Linked DNA regions of Homo sapiens: region 2 is linked to region 1. The links are contacts of gene promoters, found by promoter capture Hi-C in blood cells and fetal thymus (Javierre and others, 2016). All regions are on one chromosome and are shown on one strand. The core of a region is centred on a gene start or on the middle of the fragment in contact, and the rest is flanking DNA. Distances in the headings are between cores, read along the strand shown.

The links. Contacts are between HindIII fragments. The CHiCAGO score rates a contact against its expected background, and 5 or more counts as called.
Region 2: a contact is called between a fragment that was not itself captured here and the fragment with the promoter of KLHDC2 in region 1, in 1 of 17 cell types (megakaryocytes). The highest score is 5.4, in megakaryocytes.

The regions. Positions count from the first base shown.
Region 1 is chr14:49,766,172-49,769,755 of GRCh38, forward strand. It overlaps KLHDC2 (kelch domain containing 2), which reads left to right and starts at 1,982. Exons shown (of 13, transcript NM_014315.3): 1 at 1,982-2,450. The coding sequence starts at 2,298. RefSeq lists silencers at 1,382-1,441, 1,782-1,861, 2,032-2,211. The HindIII fragment of the contact is 13,494 bases long and covers 1-3,584 here.
Region 2 is chr14:49,651,360-49,654,943 of GRCh38, forward strand. POLE2 (DNA polymerase epsilon 2, accessory subunit) reads right to left here. Exons shown (of 19, transcript NM_002692.4): 13 at 3,425-3,479; 14 at 2,796-2,855; 15 at 2,631-2,708; 16 at 1-18. Among named protein-coding and RNA genes, the nearest start is that of DNAAF2, 18 kb to the left of the region's middle. The HindIII fragment of the contact is 226 bases long and covers 1,138-1,363 here.

The sequences.
Region 1 (3,584 bases), core at 732-3,231:
CACGCCTGTGATCCCAGCACTTTGAGAGGCCGAGGCGGGTGGATCACCTGAGGTCAGGAGTTCGAGACCAGCCTGGCCAACATGGTGAAATCCCATCTCTACTAAAAAATACAAAAATCAGCCGGGCGTGGTGGCAGGTGCCTTAGTCCCAGCTACTTGGGAGGCAGAGGCAGGAGAATCGTTTGGACTCGGGAGGCGGAGGTTGCAGTGAGCCGAGATCGAGCCAGTGCACTCAAGCCTGGGGGACAAGAGCGAGACTTCTCTCGAACAAACAAAAAACAAAAACGATGATAGAAGGGTAATGTAGCTGGAAGGAGGACACAGCCAGGAATTGAAGCTGGAAAGGCAAGCTGGGTCTGGACCATGCTGGGTCTTCTTGCACAGCACTGTGATATGAATTTTTTTTTTTTTTTTTTTTTTTTTTTGAGACGGAGTTTCGTTCTTGTTGCCCAGGCTGGAGTGCAATGGTGCCCTTTTGGCTCACTGTAACCTCCGCCTCCCGGCTTCAAGAGTTTCTCCTGCCTGAGCCTCCCAAGTAGCTGGGATTACAGGCGCCGGCCACCAAGCCTGTGTAATTTTTTTGTATTTTCAGTAGAGACAGAGTTTCGCCATTTTGGCCAGGCTGGTCTCGAACTCCTGGCCTCAGGTGATCCGCCTGCCTCGGCCTTCCAAAGTGTTGGGATTACAGGCGTGAGCCACCGCGCCCAGCCGAGATATTAATTTTGGATTCTACTAAGGACGACGGGAGCCAGCTCAAGGTTTTTAAGTGACTCGATCAGATTCACGAGGTTGGTTCACAAGGAACTTCGATAACCCCAAAGTCTAGTGAGCATAATTCGACTGGGAGAAGACACTGCTGCAAGGAATTCTGTGAACCAGACAGATTTGAGGGCACCAACCAGGGTGGATGGCAGATAAGGTCTTAACAGCCTCAAGGTGATTTGCTTCCTTGTTGAAGGCTTTAATTAATCCTCTTAAGTAACTTTCAAGTTCTTGAGTTCAAGTAAACACACTGGCACACTAGGGGAGGAGTGGCAGGCTATAAGCATTTTAATAATTAAAAAAAAAAAGCCTTTTATTGTTCAAAGTGTTCCTTTTCTATGGAGTGCTCCCAACCAGAAGATGAGGGAAATGGAGATAATGAAGCACGTCCCTCCTACCAAACACGATAAATTCTACAGGCACTGTAAGATCAAGAATTTAAGATTATTTTTGTCCCACCCTATTTTACAGGTGAGGTATCAAGCACAGTAACTCGTAATTTTCTTTTGGCCCAATTGAAAGGTATCATATAAGAGAAAGCTGTGTGTGCGTGAAAAGGATCCGCCTTTCTTTCTGAAGAAAAGGGTGGTTACGGCTTCGGAAACGCTTTTCAAGCCAACTCTGCAGCCCGGCTGGCGGCGGCAGCGGCGGCGGCGGCAACGTCAGATTCCCGCAGAGGCGGCGCCCGGCAGGGGCGGCAGGAGCTCAGGAGAGGCCCCCGGGGATCGGGCTGGGCCCCACGTGAGAGCTAAGCGACTGCCCTCGCGCCCGCAGAACAGCAGGGCCTGCATCGACTCTAAGGCGAGACCAGAAACTTGCTAGTGGAGCAATTCTGGTGCCCCTGCCCGGGCTGTGAACCCTCTGAGATCATCCCTCAATCAAACGAATAGAAATCCTCGGGAAGAAAAAAAAAATTGCGGCAATCCGGCTAAAATTCAGCAGCTTTCAGGGACCGATTCAGGACATTATCCCTGTGGTTCCCTCAGTGAAAGGAGACTCGAAGCGCGACTAGAAGTCGCCGGGCCCCATAGATCTGCGGTGCCCAGGCCGTAGGCGGAGGCGCGGGCAGAGGCGGCGGCGGCGGCGGCGGCGGCTGGAGGACCCGGCGCTGGGGGCGCTGAGCGGCAGCCTCGCTTCCGGAGCTCGGCGGGCGGCGTCAGCGGAACGGGCGGCTTCCGGCCGCGGCGTAAACAAGGCCGTGGACTGCAGGAGGCGGGGCAGACGGGCTGCAATAGGGAGCCGGCCCGACGCGGACCGCTTCCCTGCAGTGCCCCGAGTCCCGGGCCCGCGCCGCCGCCGCCCGGCTCCGCTCGCGGCCCCTCTGTCTGCAGGCGTGCCCCGGCGGCGGCGGAGAGCCGTCCTCGGCCGAGGAGGCTGGGAAACGCGAGCGCAGGCGGCAGAGAGGCCTCAACGCCGTCCCTTTCGCCACCGCCTTTTCCTTGCCTCGCGCCGCTGTGCATTTCTCTCCTTTTCCTTTGTTTTTTTGGCCCCTCGCGGGTGTGGGCATTGTTGGTTAGCAAAAGTGCAGCCTCAAGATGGCTGATGGCAACGAGGATCTGCGGGCTGACGACTTGCCTGGGCCAGCCTTCGAGAGCTATGAGTCCATGGAGCTTGCCTGCCCCGCTGAGCGCAGCGGCCACGTAGCCGTCAGCGACGGGCGCCACATGTTCGTCTGGGGCGGCTACAAGGTCAGTGAGTGGCCGGGCCGCGACGGACGTCGCTCGGCTGTGACTCGGGTCTGCGTTCGCGGCCAGGCGGGGAGGCCAGAGCGGGCCGCCGAGGGCGCTCCCCGCCTGCGTCGCGCGCCCCACCTCAGACTCTGCCCGTTGGTTGTTTTTTTTTTGCGCGCGGGAATCTTCCTTCTCTCGAGTACCCCAACCCGTCTCGAACCTCCAGGGCTGCTGTCATGTCACCCTGGTGCTCACAAAGCCAACTCACTCCCACCCCCGTTGTTGCCATTGGAGCGTTATTCCGGGGAAGGCCCTGTTAATGTTGCTTGGGCGGTGCATTCGGAAGGGTTGGGGTGTGAAAGGTGACGGTGTGTGATATCACTCAGACGCGTTATGAGGACGGCCTACGAGGACTTCACCCTCTGGAGCTGGGAACCGCTGCCCACTTACAGGGAGGCCGAGGTGTAGGAAAACTGGAATTCCAAAAGGTTACAGGAACCACCTTATTCAGCCTTCCCGCCTGTGCAAATGGCCATCAGGACTGTTTTCCTTCTGGCTTCAGCTGGGTTGAAGTTTTTCAGCAGACACCCCTATTAAGATAATGGAAAAGCTCCACCAGTAACCAAAAAATCCCCAGCATCAAATGAACTACAGAGTGCAGCTCTTTGACTCTCCGATCCCCTGGTTATAAACAACGTGATTAGTTAGCAGTTTAAAGCCAGTTGCCATTCTTTACCCTGCTAACCTCGGAAATCTAGAATTTTATTTGCTAGGATGGCTCTGAGCCAGTCCTACCACAAAATTCCTCTTTGGTCTTGAAAATGTTCTCCGCCCTCCCCACGCCCGTGCCTTGGATGACTTGCTTTGTGATTGTTTTTAGCTTATGGTACAGCTGACTTGATCATAGTTGACCATTTTTGAGATAGCTTTCAAAGATGGCTGTCCTGATACTTTATTTTGGTTTAACTGCAAAAGTAATTTTTTGCCAATCCTAATGAATCTGCAGTGTTTTCCCCAGTTTCCAATGAATGTGGTTAGAAAATAGAAAGGGGGCCGGGCGCGGTGGCTCACGCCTGTAATCCTAGCACTTTGGGAGGCCAAGGTAGGTGGATCAGCTGAAGTCAGGAGCTCGAGACCAGCCTGGCCAACATA
Region 2 (3,584 bases), core at 1-2,500, 120 kb before region 1:
TGTGTACAGTACTGAATTCTGAAATGAAAACAGTAGTTGAATTTGACTTCTCAGAAAAAAATGATATTAATTTTAAAGGTAAAATCTCTTACAATACAACCCCATTCCCACATTCACTGTTCACCACACAAAACTTCAACCAGAGTCTGTCTATTCATCTATTCATTTAACAGCTATGTATTGAGCTCTTAATATATGCCTACCCCATTCTAGGGATTAGCGAACAGAACCAAAAGATCCCAGCCCTCATACAGTTTACATTCTAGTAGGGGGTGGGGCTGAGAAAATAAAAAGCGAACATAATCATATAGTATGTTTTAAGATAATTAAGCATAAGAGAAAAAGAAAAAGACAGGCTAAGAGGGACAGCATATGTGGTAAGAGAGAGCCTAGAAGGCGGGCATATTAATAGGATGATCAGAACAGGCCGGGCTCATAATTTAGTGTGACTTGAGCACAGGCTTGAAGCGGAAGAGGGACTTAGTCAAGCAGATACCCAGAGGAAGCGCACTGCAGGCAAAGGGAACAGATGGAGCCCAGGCCCTCAGACTGGAGCTCGCCTGGCATCCTTGAGGAACAGAAGGGAGGCTAGTGTGGCTGGAGTAAATGGGGAGGAGAGGAAATCAGAGAGGTAACGGAGCCAGATAACACAGGGCCTTGATTACCACTGCAAGGATACGGCTGTCACTAAATCACGAGGGGTCCCTTTTTCCAATGAGGGTCCCTTTTTCCAGGATCGGGAAGGTGGATGGGATATGCCTTATGCTTTACAGGATCACTTTCACACTGCGTTAAGAATAGAATACGGAGAGGAGAATGGCATGAACCCGGGAGGCGGAGCTTGCAGTGAGCCGAGATCGCGCCACTGCACTCCAGCCTGGGCAACAGAGCGAGACTCCGTCTCAAAAAAAAAAAAAAAAAAAAAAAAAAAAAAAAAAAAAAAAAAAAAAAAGAATAGAATACGGAGGGGAAGGAGTAAAAGCTGGAGACCAATTAGGAGGCTATTGTAATAATCCAGGCCGAGAAGATGGCAGAGCAGGGCTCCTCAACCTCCAGGCCATGGACTGGTACCAGTCCATGGTCTGTTAGGAACTGGACCACACAGCAGGAGGTGAGCAGCAGGCTGCAAGCAAGCAAAGCTTCATCTGTATTTACAGCCACTCCCCATCGGTTGTATTACATCCTGACCTCTGCCTCCTGTCAGATCAGCAGGGGCATTAGATTCTCACAGGAGCACGAATCCTGTTGTGAACTGTACACGTGAGTGATCTAGGCTGCACACTCGTTATAAGAATCTAATGTCTGATGATCTGTCACTGTCTCCCATCATCCCCAGATGGGACCGTCTGGTTTCAGGAAAACAAGCTTAGGGCTCCTACTGATTCTATATTATGGTAAGTTGTATAATTGTTTTATTATATATTATAATGTAATAATAATAGAAATAAAGTGCACAATAAGTGTAATACGCTTGAATCATCCCAAAATCACCCCCACCCCCCCTGGCGTCTGTCTCCCATAAGATCAGTCCCTGGTGCCAAAAAGGTTGGGGACCACTGTGGTAGAGGGTTGTGGAGGTAGAGGTATAGAGAGAGAGCAGATTCTGGATATAATTTGAAGTTAATGGGACTTCCTGAAAAAACATGTGAGAGAAACCCCAAAGTGTTTGGCCTGAACAACTGGAATAATCATTGTTCAGACCATGAAGGTGTCATGAACTAACATGGAGAAGTCTACAGAAGAGGTTAGGGACACTCGTGGGGAGGAAGATCAGGAGTTCACTTAGGTTGGGATGGTGATAAGTAGGCAACTGGATACCTGAGTCTGGAGTTTGGAAGGTAGGTTGAAGTGGAAATATAAATGTGGAAGGTGTCAATACACAGATGATACTTAAAGCCAGAGGACACTGGAGAAGGCCAGCAAAGGAGTGAATGTAGGCAGAAAAGAGGCGAACCAAGGCTGCCTCTGATGGTATTCCCACAGGAAGAACTTATGATTACAATGAGCAATACGAACAGTAAATAAGTAATCTTTGTATTCTTCCTTTGTAACCTTTCTTAAAGGATATGTAGTAATAATATCTATTTTTAAACTGCTATCCATTATTCAAGAGTCTGAATTGACTACCAATAAATTATTTAAATATAGTTAAACTATTTTCAAAGTTTTGAGAAACCTAAAACAAAAATAAATTTTCTTCTTATATTTATTCCATAACAGTCGAAATTCAGAGACACATTTTAGGAATCAAGTTAGTTTTTTTGTTTTTTGTTTTTTTTGTTTTTTTGTTTTTTGTTTTTTTGAGACAGGGTCTTGCTCTGTCGCCCAGGCTGCAGGCTGGAATGCAGTAGTGCATTCTCAGCTCACAGCAACCTCTCCACCTACCAGGCTCAAGTGATCCTCCCATCTCAGCCTCTTCATAGAACCACAGGCGCGTGCCACCAAGCCCAGCTAATTTTTGTACTTTTTGTAGAGATGGGTTTCACTGTGTTGCCAAAGCTGGTCTCGGAACTCCAAGCAACCTGCCTGCCTCGGCCTCCCAAAGTGCTGAGATTACAGACATGAGCCACCACACCTGGCTAATTTTTAAATGAAAGGAAAAATGTATAACACAAAATACTAATTCTTACCTGCAAGGATTAGTAGTAAAAACTGAAAATGGTACCCTTTGTCTGAATTCATTAGTGATGCTTTCAGCAAGTGGTGGCCTATAAAAACAATTTATGTGATATAGTTTATCTTTTTAAGTTTTACAAAATTTTCTACACTGTTGCAAAAATCTGAACAAAACTTACCTTGGTAAGATGGAACCAAATCCAGGATCCTCTGGACCAGGTACAAACACAAAACGACTACTGTAGCAAAATTCAACACAATTCATTTAAAAATATTATTGTAACACTATCCAATAGCTTAAAAGCAAGTTATTCCCTTTGTTTTCTCTTTAAAATTAAAAAACATTTAAATTTCATGCATTATAATAAATGAACTATTAAGTCTCCAGACCAACACTGTCTAGTAATGTCATGATAGAAAAGTTCTATATCTGCACTGCCCAATTGAACACTTGAATTGTGGCTAGCATAGCTGATGGACTGAATTTTATATTTAAATTTAATTAAACTTAGATTTAAAGAGACATGTGGCCAGTGACTATCATATCGGAGAGTGAAGCTCTAGACTCTTAAGAGTAATGCCACGAAGAAATTCCAAGTATGGCTGAAATTACCTCTATCCCTTTCAATACTTTTCATTATAAACCTCTAGTACAATGTGAGGATAACTTTATCTCTTAGTTCTTTTAATTTTCTCAACTTTATCTTTCTTCCTTAGTTTTGTAATAATTGCTGATATAACAAAATTCATTTTTTGTTTTTTTTTTAAGTAAAACGGTGAAAAAATATATAGTGCTAGAGATCATTACCTTTGGTGAATATCTGGGTATTCACATATTATATCTGCCAAAGTTTTTAGGGAATCTAAAATTTTAAAAAGGTATTGAATTAAATTTGCATATAATGCCATAAAATTATATTTGATTAGATACAATCCTGTATATTCTTAATTAAAATATTATGGATAAT